Linked DNA regions of Homo sapiens: region 2 is linked to region 1. The links are contacts of gene promoters, found by promoter capture Hi-C in blood cells and fetal thymus (Javierre and others, 2016). All regions are on one chromosome and are shown on one strand. Each heading gives the region's core, a stretch centred on a gene start or on the middle of the fragment in contact. The rest is flanking DNA. Distances are from core to core; before and after follow the strand shown. Region 1 holds the start of SLC2A12 (solute carrier family 2 member 12). Region 2 overlaps ALDH8A1 (aldehyde dehydrogenase 8 family member A1).

Evidence for each region. The method cuts DNA at HindIII sites, captures the fragments that hold promoters and counts their contacts. A CHiCAGO score of 5 or more calls a contact.
Region 2: a fragment that was not itself captured here is called in contact with the fragment with the promoter of SLC2A12 in region 1 in 5 of 17 cell types (M1 macrophages, M0 macrophages, non-activated CD4 T cells and 2 more); the score reaches 7.5 in M1 macrophages.

What each region holds. Positions count from the first base shown.
Region 1 is chr6:134,050,465-134,057,448 of GRCh38, forward strand. It overlaps SLC2A12 (solute carrier family 2 member 12), which reads right to left and starts at 2,160. Exons shown (of 5, transcript NM_145176.3): 1 at 1,914-2,160. The coding sequence starts at 2,016. The HindIII fragment of the contact is 5,616 bases long and covers 1-5,101 here.
Region 2 is chr6:134,935,592-134,941,997 of GRCh38, forward strand. ALDH8A1 (aldehyde dehydrogenase 8 family member A1) reads right to left here. Exons shown (of 7, transcript NM_022568.4): 4 at 3,675-3,824. Among named protein-coding and RNA genes, the nearest start is that of ALDH8A1, 11 kb to the right of the region's middle. The HindIII fragment of the contact is 2,239 bases long and covers 1,716-3,954 here.

The sequences.
Region 1 (6,984 bases), core at 910-3,409:
TTAAGTTGAATTTTGTGCATGTAACCAACTATTGCAAATGTAAATACACATTATCTTTCTTCTGGATAATTGTGAATTTGTACAATATAAGCTATTAAGAGCACATTGTACCTTCAAAGCCATATCAAAATAAACAGTCCATTTTTAATGGTTACTACAAAGGCTCTTCCTAGGCAGTTTCTTTTCATCTTCTTTGTGACATTATCACTGACTGTATTTAGTGAGCCCTTTTGTTAACATCACCACCTCAGCTTGCTCTGCAGTCTAGACTGCAGCTCATGTTCCCAGGAATTTGGAGAAAAGAACTTTGCAACTCTTTCCCTTTATCTCCAAATATAAGTTTCCCTTGCCTGCTCTTAGGGAACTTGTGGGCCAATGAGTAGCAAGCGCTTAGGGAAAAGGGTACTTCTGCATAGGAGAGGACAGGCCATATTGAAAGATGACCCCAGATATTCTTTTATTATTATTATTATTATTATGTTAGACAGAGTTTCACTCTGTCACCCAGGCTGGAGTGCAGTGTCATGATCTCAGCTCACTGTAACCTCCAAGTGATTCTTGTACCTCAGCCTCCTGAGTAGCTGAGATTACAGGCATGTGCCACTATGCTCAGCTAATTTTTTTATTTTTCTGTATTTTTAGTAGAGATAGGGTTTCCGCTCTGTTGGCCAGGCTTGTCTTGAACTCCTGGCCTCAAGTGATCTGCCCACCTTGGCCTCCCAAAGTGCTGAGATTACAGGCATGAGCCACCACGCCCGGCCTCATTCTTGACGAGAAGTGTGAAAGCAAGAGAAGAGATCAGGACATGGAAGATGGAGGGCTTCTCCACTCCTGAAGAGGGCCGCTTCATGCCTCGATGTTAGGGGTCACAGGTTCGATTCCCCAAGATCAGACAAACCCACAAGGCAAACGTCAGTATTAGGACCATTCCCAAGAGAAAGGCAGATGTCTTTTGTATCATTTAGTGTATTGGATTTTGCATGAAATTTCTATATGCTGCTTGGGAATGTAATATCTGATTAAGAATACACAGCTGAGGAAAGTAGTAGGAAAGAGAAGATTTTTTGTGTTTGTTGTCATTTCATATTACAATTACTTTCTATTCCTTGCAGCACAAACTAAATGAGCAGGAAGAGGCAGCAAAAAGCGTACAATGTATTTGTGGGAATTGTAAATGTGGAAGTGAAGACCAGCCTCTGATTTATCAAAGATCATTAAATGAATTAAAACTTTTCCAAATTTCACCTTCAGAAGGTCATCATAGCAAACAAACCTCAGTTTGCAAGGCCAGTTTTAAAGAAGGCAGAACCCAGCAAAGCAAGCGTTTCAGGCTCTGAATAACGCTCAAATTCATCACAAACGTGCTGGGAATTTAAAAAGGAAGTTTGTGTTCTCATTGATTACATAACTAATAATTTTATGAAGCCTGTTTAAAATACTGATTTTTAAAACAGTGGTTATAATGTCAACTGGTTACACAGTGTCCATTTGTGACAATAAATGAAAAAGTGTAAGCAAGCGTGTGCTTGTGTGTGTTTACAAATGAGACTATCTTTGCCAGTGGACCGTTCCAATATGAAAAACATCCATACATTGTATTATGTAAACACAATCAAGGGGACCCATCATACCAGTGGTGGATGTGTAACCTGTATTTTCTTGGCACATAAGGTTCCACCAAGACTTCGATCTTCACAACATTACAGCTCCGAGCTGTCCCACGTCCCACCAGACCCTGTCCCCTTCTCTCCACTCATCCAGCGCGCCCACATGCGCGCGCGCGCATACACACACACACACACACACACACACACACACACACACACACACACGGGACTCAAGAGACAGTACACTCGGGAGATGAGTACAGCTTGCTTCTCTGCGGTCACCCGAGCACTGCAGGCTCACTTTACCTCTCGCCCAGGGAGGATGCCGGCTGCCGCTGCCCTCCGTCTCCACGGCTGTCCCCTTCTGGTTCAGCAGACTGGGGCCCTCGGTGTTTTCAACAGGTACCATGGTCACGTAGAAGTTACAGCCGCTTCCCCGCCACCAAACCGCCCCGACCACCCCCGCTCCCAGGAGTGGTCACTTTCCCCATAATAGCATGCTAAAGAAGAGTGTGGGGAAAAACTTCGGGCAAAGCTAATGTGATTTGTGACCAACTTTGTTTCTATTTCCGAAGGCTTTGCCCTTTTCGGTGACACAGGCTGTTGCTATTCCAAGCAGCCTATCACAGGCAGGGGGAGGGCCGTGAGTCAGAGGATTGTTTTTGCCTTTAGATGCAGAGTTGGAAGCAAGGGGTTAAAAGAAAGGGAACTCAGACGGAGTGTTTGGCCATTAGCTAAGGGTAGCTCTTGTATTCTAGCACCTTTGAAAAGAGGCAGAGAAAGGAAACATGCAGATTTAAATGCAAGCTGAGAGTGGGGATAGAATACTCACAGATGGTATCAGTTAATCTTGCAGAAAGAGGAACAATTTATGCAAAGACATACCAGAAGGAAAAGTGTGTCAATTTTTCAGCAAGACTGTTATTCCAAAAGTCATGGTATTTACCAGCTTACACAAAGCATAAAATACCTTTATTGTTTCAACCTGATTTTGGTCTAGGTAAAGGCCTATATCTTTCTCTCCAAGGCCTTTCAGATAAATCACAGCCTGAGACCAAAAATACACAAACTCAGAATGCACAGATTCTTTAGACTTTTTATATGCTGAGGTTATAGCAAAGTAATCCATTTCTTAATGCAGAATTGTCTTTAAGAGACAAATTAACACTGAATCCTCTGTTAGGTTTCATGTTTGCGTAGGTAGGAGGAGGATACTCCTCACTCAGAGAGGCCAGACTAAGTGGCCCATTGTGTGCGTGTGGTGGACATGTAATCTCAAACAAAATCAGGTCATGAGAGAGGATCTTTTTCTGATTTGTGAACATATTTATAAAAAAGTCTTACAGGGTTATGACATTTTACCTTCAGTTATTCATTCAACAAATCATGTTTATTAAAAAAAAAAGCCTTATAGAGGAAATTGAGATCATCTTAAAAATCATTTGGAATAAAAACTAACATGTGTGGAGCACTTATGTGCCAGAAATTGTGCTAAGCGCAATAACGCAGATGATGACTTTGAGGCAGGTACCAACATTATAGAAGAGGAAATGGAGGTTGGGTAACTTGGCTACAGTCTCACAGCTAATCAGTGGTAGAGCTGAGATTATGAATCCAGGAGGTCTAAAGCTGTAACTCTCCTATATTCTAACTTCCCAGCCTTGTCCTTCTCTAATTTTCTTGGCTTCCTATGGTTTCAGACCTACTCGACTTTAAGAAGATGCCGTGAAATATGGCTTTTAGTCATAGGCATTTCTCTGGACAGAAAAACAAATTTGTGCTTGTATAAGCAGAAGCTAAATTTTTGTTACTTCTTTTCAACATTTTAACTGAATCACTTCAAAGTTCTAAATTCACTTATTTGTACATTTCCTTTGCTTGTCATTAAATAATTCTATATTTTTCTTATCTTTCAGGGAAACAGGTAGCAAATGGAAACAAACCTATAATAATTCAACTAGTCTTTATTATGTACCCGTTGTATGTCTGCTGATAGTGCTAGAAAATGGAAGTCCTCCAGGCATAATCCAGGCCCCTTATGATTAAGAGGGTGAGAAGTTCAGAATCCCACACATCAGTGTCCCCACTAAAGAATGTGTAACGCAACCATGGTTTGAAACAACTCATTTTATTTGTTCCCAGGGTGCATTATAATTATATAGGAGTCCCAGTTTCTATCTGTGAGACACATATGTTTCCCATAAGTTCTCTATATTCTCTTGGCTTCTAACTTCTTTCTGCTCAGAACCAATGACCTCATTAGGGGGAAAATGTTCTTGCAATGGGTTAGTTGTATCATTGCTTTGTTTCGTGATCCCACAACCTGTGTTTCTAGCAGCTTCTTGGCCCCATGGGAGTGTTAGAGTGTTTGCTATAGTGCTTGACTAGACAGAAGACAAAACTAATTCCAGAATACTTTACTATGGTTAAAAGCAGTTCAACAGTTCTCACTCTGTTTTGTGTAGCCAAACCATACAGGAGATCCACAGGCATAGTAAGCCAACCAGGAGTCAAAAAGAATGCTCAGCAATGCAACTGACAACATCACCTCCTGGTGCTCCTAATTCTGTTCTTTATTCTGCTGGTGACCTGACCGGGGCCACTGGCTATCTCAAGCTCTGTTTGTACTTACCTCAATCTCTTAACTCAGAGAAAAGTTTAGGGGAGAAAATTTTTTTCACCCAGACTAGAGGGGGGAAACTCTGCCTCAATTCTGTTACGAACCCTGTACTTCTCCTTCCCAGCCTTTTGCACACCATAATGTATTTAATACAGTTAAATGCGGTGATTCAATTAAATCTGCCTTTTCTGCTAGATTGCAAACTCTATGAGAGTATGGACTATGTTTGTTTAGTTTATTATAGTATTCTGCGTGTCTGGCACTCAGCAAATACTCAGTAAGTATTTGCTGGCTGACAGACTGATCCCTGTAAATCCAATAAACTTTAGCAACACTAGAATGTATGCTCCAAGAGGGCAGGCACCTATTTCTATCTTGCACATTCGTCCAGCTCCTAACACAATGCCAGGCATGCAGTAGACACTTAATAAATATTTGTTAGATAAATGAGTGCTCACAAATAGAGCTTTTAGTGACTAAATAACTATTTAGTTTTTAAATATTAAAATCCATATGATGATTGCCTATGACATTTTGTCCTTCCTCTCTGTTTCTGCCAATTCCTTTAGACCAAGTATAACCACAGGCTATCCATCTTCCCTGGAGTTTGAGCCACTTCCATTATTAAAATCTGTTCCTCCACTCAAGGAATTCATAATCAGCAGACAGCAGACAGTTCATTCTTCATAACCCCAATAATTTTGCTACATACCACTTTGGACCACTGCTCATAGGCAATGCTACCAAATCCAAAAACACCTATCCTGACTTATAAACTGGCACAGCGGGGAAGAGGGGATGAAAGACAAGCAGCTTCACAGGGCTCGTAAACATCTACCATAGAGCATGCCTATTTTCATGGCAATTTTTTAAAAGCTTCACAAAAACCTTGTGAAGTAAATACCGTTACTTCCATTTTGCAGAAACTGAAACCGAGAAGTTTATGAAACATTTCTAAGATCAAAACATTTTCCAATGTTGAATTATAAAAATTTGAATCCCACAGGAAAACCTACACTCGACATTTTACCATGCTTGCTCATTCACATCTATATATAACAATTCTTCCATCCATCAGTCGATCCGTATTAGTTTTTATACATATCAAAGTAAGTTGAAATACTTCAGAATGCATATTATTAAATAGAGTTCAATACTAGGTTCTTTTTTTCAAGACAAAAAAGCTCCAGAAGCAACCAATTTTCTGATATTTTTCCACATAGATTACCTTTGCTTGTTCTAAACCTTAATTCATATAATGGAACCACAGAGAATGCAGCCTTGTGTAAGGAGTCTTTCACTGAGCATAGTTTTGATATCCATCCATGTTTTTATGTATATTAGTAGTTCATTTTGTTTATTGCTGAATAGTGTTATATGGGTGAATACACCACAGTTTATCCATTTTCCTATTGATGGACATCTGGGCTGTTTCCAATTCTTTGCTATTACACATAAAACTGTTATGAGCACTCTTGCACAAGTCTTTTTATGCAGAACATAACATTTCAGAGCACAGCAGTTCAAGTCCATTTGATTCCAAAACCCAAATGCTTTTCACTACACCGTATTGTTTCCCTGCAGTGCACCCTGCAGTGCACATTGATGTGGAATGCACCTTCTACAATGGTTCATTACAGTGTAAACACAAATGGGAAAATATGGTCTTTATGCAAACAAAAAAATTCCAAATACAAATTCACTTCTTGTTTAGCCTAATTGCAATAAAATATTCATCTTGGTATGATTGTTTGGAAGGATGTTTATTATTTCACTGTTTATACTATCTAAATAACTTCTCTATCTGAAAGTTTTCATTATGACTTCTTTCCTTAGGTGTAGAATATTATCACTCATAACATGTTGATTAAAGTTCCTCAAATTACAAAGTAAGTGTGGTTAAATTTATTATGGTATGTTCACTTGCTATAACATGTGATAAATCATTAAAAGAAAGACAATGTAGCAATGCAAGAAAATGTTTTTCCAATTATTTTAAGTGGGAGAATCAAAGTGGCATACAGAAAGTTGCATACTCATTACTATTACAATACTTTCTTAAAATATATGCGCCTATTGGTAGAGACTGGAAGGAAACTTGGAACAACTGAAAATAACTAATAGGTTGAGGTGGTAAATCATGTGTAAAAAGTACTGTCTTAAAAGTTGTTTGCTTAATGCTTCTATCAGATTGTATATATAATAAATATAAATTTGAAGAAAACTTCTTCATACTTAGGGCTGCCATATACCATTGTGCAATTTGGACACAGTACAACTCTAAGTGGGTCATTCTCATTTGCAGACAGCAGAAGTTTGCTTATTTATAAAGCAAATCTTCCAGAATATGACAATACTAACCTGAAGAAAGGGCAGCTTTTTCTAATTTGCTCAAAGGTACATTTGGGCAACTGATGGGGCTGTTCAAATTATCATCTCCCTTTAAATCACACCAATGTCATATCTATTAGTTTGGCCCATGTCTGTCTTTGTACTGCCCAGCTACGTGGAATGAGCACTGTTCTTCCTTTGATTAGCTATTTTTCCAAATAAAGTATTTTTAACTTAAAAATCTCTCTCAGTCCGATTGCCATGACCCTTGGATGGAGGGCATTAACAAAAAGCTGTTCAATGATTAAACCTTTCCTTGAGATTAACCTGCCTTTGATACCATGAAGTCAGAAAAAGTTGCTTGATCATACATGACAACAAGCAGTAGTTATTGGGTTGGGAACTCTGGTCTGCTTTCATTACATG
Region 2 (6,406 bases), core at 1,585-4,084, 890 kb after region 1:
CCCTCTATTTCCTCAGGCCTGACCTACGGTAGGTGCAGAAATCTTGCAGCATCTCGGCTTTGTGACCTGCTTCCTTGCTTCTGGTTTCCTTCCCTTTGCTCCAGGTTAGACAATCTCTCCTCATTAGAAACATACTCCTTTGGATACAACCCATTTCTTCCAGAATCTACTTTTAAATTATAAATAATATAAATACTAATTTCACACTGATGATCCATTATCATCCAGAACATTCTCCCATACAGCCACAGCCTTGGCCCAATCACCTTGAAGCTACAGTGAAGGTCCCATCCCAGTGAGTCCTCAGGAGACAGGTGGGAAGATTCCACAAGTTGTGATGGTGCCTAGCAGAGCCCCACTTCTTTTTTTTTTTTTTTTGAGATGGAGTCTCGCTCTGTCACCCAGGCTGGAGTGCAAAGGCGCAATCTCTGCTCTCTGCAACCTCCGCCTCCTAGGTTCAAGCGATTTTCCCACCTCAGCCTCCTAAGTAGCTGGGATTACCGGCACTTGCCATCATCCCCAGCTAGTTTTTGTATTTTGGTAGAGATGGGATTTCACCACGTTAGCCAGGTTGGTCTTGAACTCCTGACCTCAGGTGATCCACCCACCTTGGCCTCCCAAAGTGCTGGGATTACAGGCATAAGCCACCATGCCTGGCCAAAGCACCACTTCTAAGCATTGCATCTCTTTACCCAACATGCACATTTGTTGAAATCTAGCTTAGGTCAGTCCTGGATTGTAGGTCACTGTCAGAGGAGTGGCTGGCACCATGTGAGAGCACCCCAGCTTTGGGTTGGGGCAAAGGAAAGTGTGGAAGGAGAGGATCCCCCTCAGTAGGTGATGCGACGAAACAAGGACAAGTCTCCCACAGTTTCCTGGGTAGGGCCCCACATCTCCACCAGTGATGGGGCATGCATGTGGGTGGATGGGGTGTGGGGCAGGAGGGGGTGGACTGTTAGGCTTTATCAATCCTGAAGGCAAAAAATGAATGGAATCACTGCTAATGTTCAGAGTAGCATTTTAACTGAGGGTGAGAGAGAATGCGGAAGCACTGCATATTTATCCCCACAGTAAAATGCGCTCACTGCGGCAGCGGATTGCTTTCCCCACGACAGTATTATCATTTTGACTACATTCCCTTGGGCTTGGATGCTAATGTCAGCTGGCCATTATTTCTCAGTACCATTTTGACATTTTATCCAGAAATTAATGGAATTTTTCTTGAGATGTCTGCCCTCTAACCTTGAAGAGATTCTGGTGATAAGAGAAGGAAAGCAGTTTAACTGACAAATAGCAATTTAGCAAAACTCAGGGGAGGTGGCTAACAGACAAGTTAGGAACAGACGAGAACAGACTAGAAGGAAACCCCTCAAATGTAGGGGCTTGGCAGGGTGGCAACAAGAAAAATTTTAGGCTTAAATAGAGCACACACACACACCCACCTACACACACACATCTCCTGCTCCACACACACACCTAATGGGAAGGGCCAGGAAAACGCAGTCAGTGGGCACTCCAGGAATGAGGGCAAATTTCCAAGAAGAAATGACTATTCCAGGAATCCCACAGAAGTATTCACTGTGTCATCTTAAAAATGAGTTTATTTTAAAGGAAGTTTATCTGTCAAGTCTGTTTAAATGCCCAGGACTAGAGGAGCTAACTCTTTAAACATCCAGAACGAATTAGTTATTTTCGCTTTTCCCTCCCCTACTAAAAGCTTCTCTTACGTTGCTCTAAAGCAGATGACACAGATGTGGTTCGCATTCCTTCCAATCCCAGTGGAGAAACTGAGGGCTCAAGAGAGGAGCAAGGTGAACATGACCCCCTCTATATTTGTCAGGGGAGGAAGTTTCAGCCCATGGAGGAAAGAGGAGAAGGGCTGTCTTAGTTTAATGGGCTTACTAGTTCCCAAGAAATAAAATCAATGCTGTGCAGAGATGGAAACAGAAACTGTCATGCAGGCCAGGTTCAGGGCAGACTGGCTGGGAAAGATAACTCATCATCTATCCAGACGTTCTTGGTCTCAGGAGAGAGTGGTTAAGGGAACACGGCTCTGCACGCCACCCCTGCCTCCAAATCCCAGTAGAGGGCAAGCCCCAGGCCTAGTCCACTCTGGGGAACCTGCAGTCACCAGGCAGGGAAGAAGTATGTCGCGCCTTTGCAGACACCACAGACCTCATTTTACAAAGAATGGGATTAGACTGTGAGGTCTTTTGTAGGGGAGGAACATGGGAAGGGTCGGCACATTTAAATGATATACCCCGCCCCACCCCCTCCACCTCGAAGCCTGGGAGCTCCATAGATGACAAATCAGAGTCCTAGGCTGGGAGGCCTCATTCCTCTGGAGGACCCTGGGATCGTAAGGCCCAGTGCCGTTCCCTAAACAGCCTCAGTTTTGAGCCTTCATCTTCCTCGTGGAGTAAAGAACTGGCTAGGGTTTACTGGAAGTTAATGTGTATGTCTGTGCTTCTAAGAAAGGTGTTCCGAAGCGGGAGAGAGGGACGGACTCTTACCCACCGGGCATTCTGTGGATACAGGAGAGCCCAGCAGTGCCTCTCTATGGGCTGAAAGGCAGCAAGGAGACCAACTAGAAAGACAGTGAGTCTGTCTCCCCCACCCAGCACTCCTGCCCTGGCCGTGGGGTGACATAGCAAAAAGACCTCACATTAAGGGGACTTCTCACAGGAGGGCTGCTGGGGTCTCCTGCCTGCTGCCTTCAAACAGTGCCAGCCTGTGCCTGTGCGGAGCTACAGCCCAGAACAAAACCAGGAGCGCATCCTGAATGCGGCCAATAAACTATTAGCAGAAAAAGAACAAGGAGCAAACGTGTGAACCTTGATATGCTAGGAAGAGGCCATATTGTATTAGCTTTCCAGTAGCAGTCCCAAAGGCAGGAAAAACTGAAGGATGTATATTTAGATCTCTTGAAATCGGGCTACTTCTACTAGGTATTCTATAGCCAAGCAAACTGTAGGTGTACCTAGCAATATTCTTATTGTCATCAGGATTAACTTGTGATTCAAGATTTTATTTTATTATTATTATTATTATTTTATTTTTTAATTTATTTTTTTGAGACGGAGTCTCACTCTGTCGCCCAGGCTGGAGTGCAGTGGTGCAATCTCGGCTCACTGCAAGCTCCGCCTCCTGGGTTCATGCCATTCTCCTGCCTCAGTCTCCCAAGTAGCTGGGACTACAGGCGCCCGCCACCACGCCCAGCTAATTTTTTGTATTTTTAGTAGAGACGGGGTTTCATCGTATTAGCCAGGATGGTCTCGATCTCCTGACCTCGTGATCCACCCACCTCAGCCTCCCAAAGTGCTGGGATTACAGGCGTGAACCACCACACCTGGCCCCAACTTAAGATTTTAATTGACTCTCTGGAGCAGGCAGGTGTCTTTGATTTGATGGGGCTGTTTAAGTCTGCGTCACTATTGTGCTGCCAGTCGCCCACCCTGGGGAGTGGAACTTGCCTGCAGTAGCACCGTTCTGGTGTTGAAGACAGGAAGCAGGGTGAGGGAACCCTGTGGGTGGAGGGGATTTCCCAGACAAGGATCAGAAAGACAAAGCCCATGATGTCACTGGAATCGATTGTGCTGCTGAGTGGAAGATTTCTATAAACTATAGGTTTGCTCCAACTCTGTGCCTGCCCCCCAACCCCAACACCTAATTACCTGCTTTATCCAGGAGTTTGCACAACATCCACGCAGTCACTGAAGTCAGCTCACTGGGCTTGGCTATCACAGTGTTCCCTGCAGCCATCGCTGGAGCTATCTTCCAGGTCAGCAAGTAGAGTGGCAAATTCCAGGGGCTGATCAGACCAGCTAAGGGATGAGAGCAGAAGCACTGCCTGTGACGGCATACCCCTCTGAGGTGGACTGGCCAAGTGGGGTTATTAACGCAAAACTCCTTCATGCTGCAGAAAACTTAGCTTACTCTTCTAACTTCTTCCCAAGCTTTGCTTATTTGTAGCCACTTTCAGGGAAATAATTCTAAAATATATTCCAAGCAACTGTATCTTTTAAAACAGAGTAAAGTCAATATGATTTCCCCATTTCTTGGCAGTTCATGATTATGAACAACAGCAATATAAACTCCAGAGCTAAAGAGTTGTCACCTATCATATACCCAAAGAAATATAAATCATTCTATTATAAAGATACATGCACGCGTATGTTCATTGCAGCACTTTGCTATTCACAATAGCAATAGCAAAGACATGGAATCAACTCAAATGCTCATCAATAATGGATTGGATAAGAATATGTGGTACATATACACAATGGAATACAATGCAGCCATAAAAAGGAACGAGATCATGTCCTTTGCAGGCACATGGATGAAGGTGGAAGCCATTATCCTTAGCAAAGTAACACAGAAACAGAAAACCAAACACCTGCATGTTCTCACTTATAAGTGGGAGCTGAACAATGAGAACACATGGACACAGGGAAAGGAACAACACACAGCAGGCCCTGTCAGGGGAGAGTCGGGGGGAAGAGCATTAGGATAAAGAGCAAATGCATGCTGGGCTTAATAGCTAGGTGATGGGTTGATAGGTGCAGCAAACCACCATGGCACACGTTTACCTATGTAACAAACCTGCACGTCCTGCACGTGTACCCTGGAACTTCAAAAAAAAATAAAAAATAAAAAAACAGTTGTCACCTGTCACTAAACAGTTCCAGAATGTGACGCATTTTGAGATTTATAGACTGAGCTTTACTTTTTCAAAAATGTCTCCTTCCCCATTATTTTAACGGTCTGGCTGTTATTTCTTCTAACATGTTTCTTTACCTTTACTTCAAATCTGTCATGGGTTGAGACATAAAATCTCAAGCTTTATATAATTATTCATAAAATAGGGGCCAATGAGTTCTGAGTGTTCCATGTGAGGGCCCTCCTATCAGTAAAGCCAATAACCTTTGGTGCATGGACTGTGACATCCATTTTGGCTATTTAGAATATTTTTAAATAAAAATTCTCTCTAGATTGTCACTTGTATCCTGACCAGATAGATTTGCTGGATGAGTAACGTAACCAGCAGCTAGAATGTGTCTCCATGCAATATTCTGAACCTATCCAGGTTTCCAATCACAAAACAAACAAATATAAAAATCTACCTTCTGAAAGGAAATTGATTCACCTTATTTTATACTCTTCCCTCAAGCCTGTGCTATGAAAGTAAATGCATCTTTTATATTATTAAATTTCCCACTGAAAAATCCATTCTTTAGGGGATAAAAATATTTTTGCAGCAAAATATATTAGCACACTTCCTAGGAGGAGGTAGAGCTTTCCACAATGCCTTGAAAACATAATTTCTGAAGGTTTCAAGTAACCAAAGCAATGAGATGTCCCAATTGTTTTCCTTTTAGCTTATATTCATAAAATGTAATAAGCTAAAAAGATGATTTTTTTCTCCGAGGAAACAGTGACATCTGGTGGAAGGTTTTAGTCATCACAGACATTTATTTATACGTTCTTCCAAAGGTCAAGAGGCAAAGGAATGCATGAAGTAAGATAATTCTCAGTAGAGGCTTATTTATCACACACCTGGCACCATACTACATGCCCTACACTTATTAATTTATTTAATGTACATAAATAGTTCTTTCTTTTTTTTTTCTTTTGAGACAGAGTCTCGATCTATCACCCAGGCTGGAGTGCAGTGGCACCATCTCAGCTCACTGCAACCTCCGACTCCCAGGTTCAAGTGATTCTCCTGCCTCAGCCTCCCAAGTAGCTGGGACTACAGATGCATGCCACCACGCCCGGCTGGGTTTTTTTGTTTTGTTTTGTTTTGTTTTTTTGAGACCGAGTCTCACTCTTGTCGCCCAGGCTGGAGTGCAATGGCACAATCTCAGCTCACTGCAACCTCGGCCTCCTGGGTTCAAGCAATTCTCCCTGCCTCAGCCTCCCAAGTAGCTGGGATTACAAGTGCCCGCCACCACATCCAGCTAACTTTTTGTATTTTTAGTAGAGATGGGGTTTCGCCATGTTGGCCAGGCTGGTCTCGAACTCCTGACCTCAGGCGATCCGCCAATCTTGGCCTCCCAAAGTGCTGGTATTACAGGCATGAGCCACCGCGCCCGGTGAATTTTTGTATTTTTAGTAGAGACGGGGTTTCACCATGGTGGCCAGGCTGATCGAATTCCTGACCTCAGATGATCCTTCTGCCTCAGCCTCTCAAAGTGCTGGGATTACAGGCGTGAGCCACTGCGCCCAGCCTGATTTTTCCTTTTTTAAATATAAGTAGAAAAAAAAATCCTGGCATGTGAATTTACATATTTACTCTTAGCATCATTCTTTTCCCTATGATTTTCCAGATAAGTCATGAACATGAGGCCTGGCGTGGTGGCTCACGCCTGTAATCCCAGCACTTGGGGAGGCCGAGGCGGGAGGA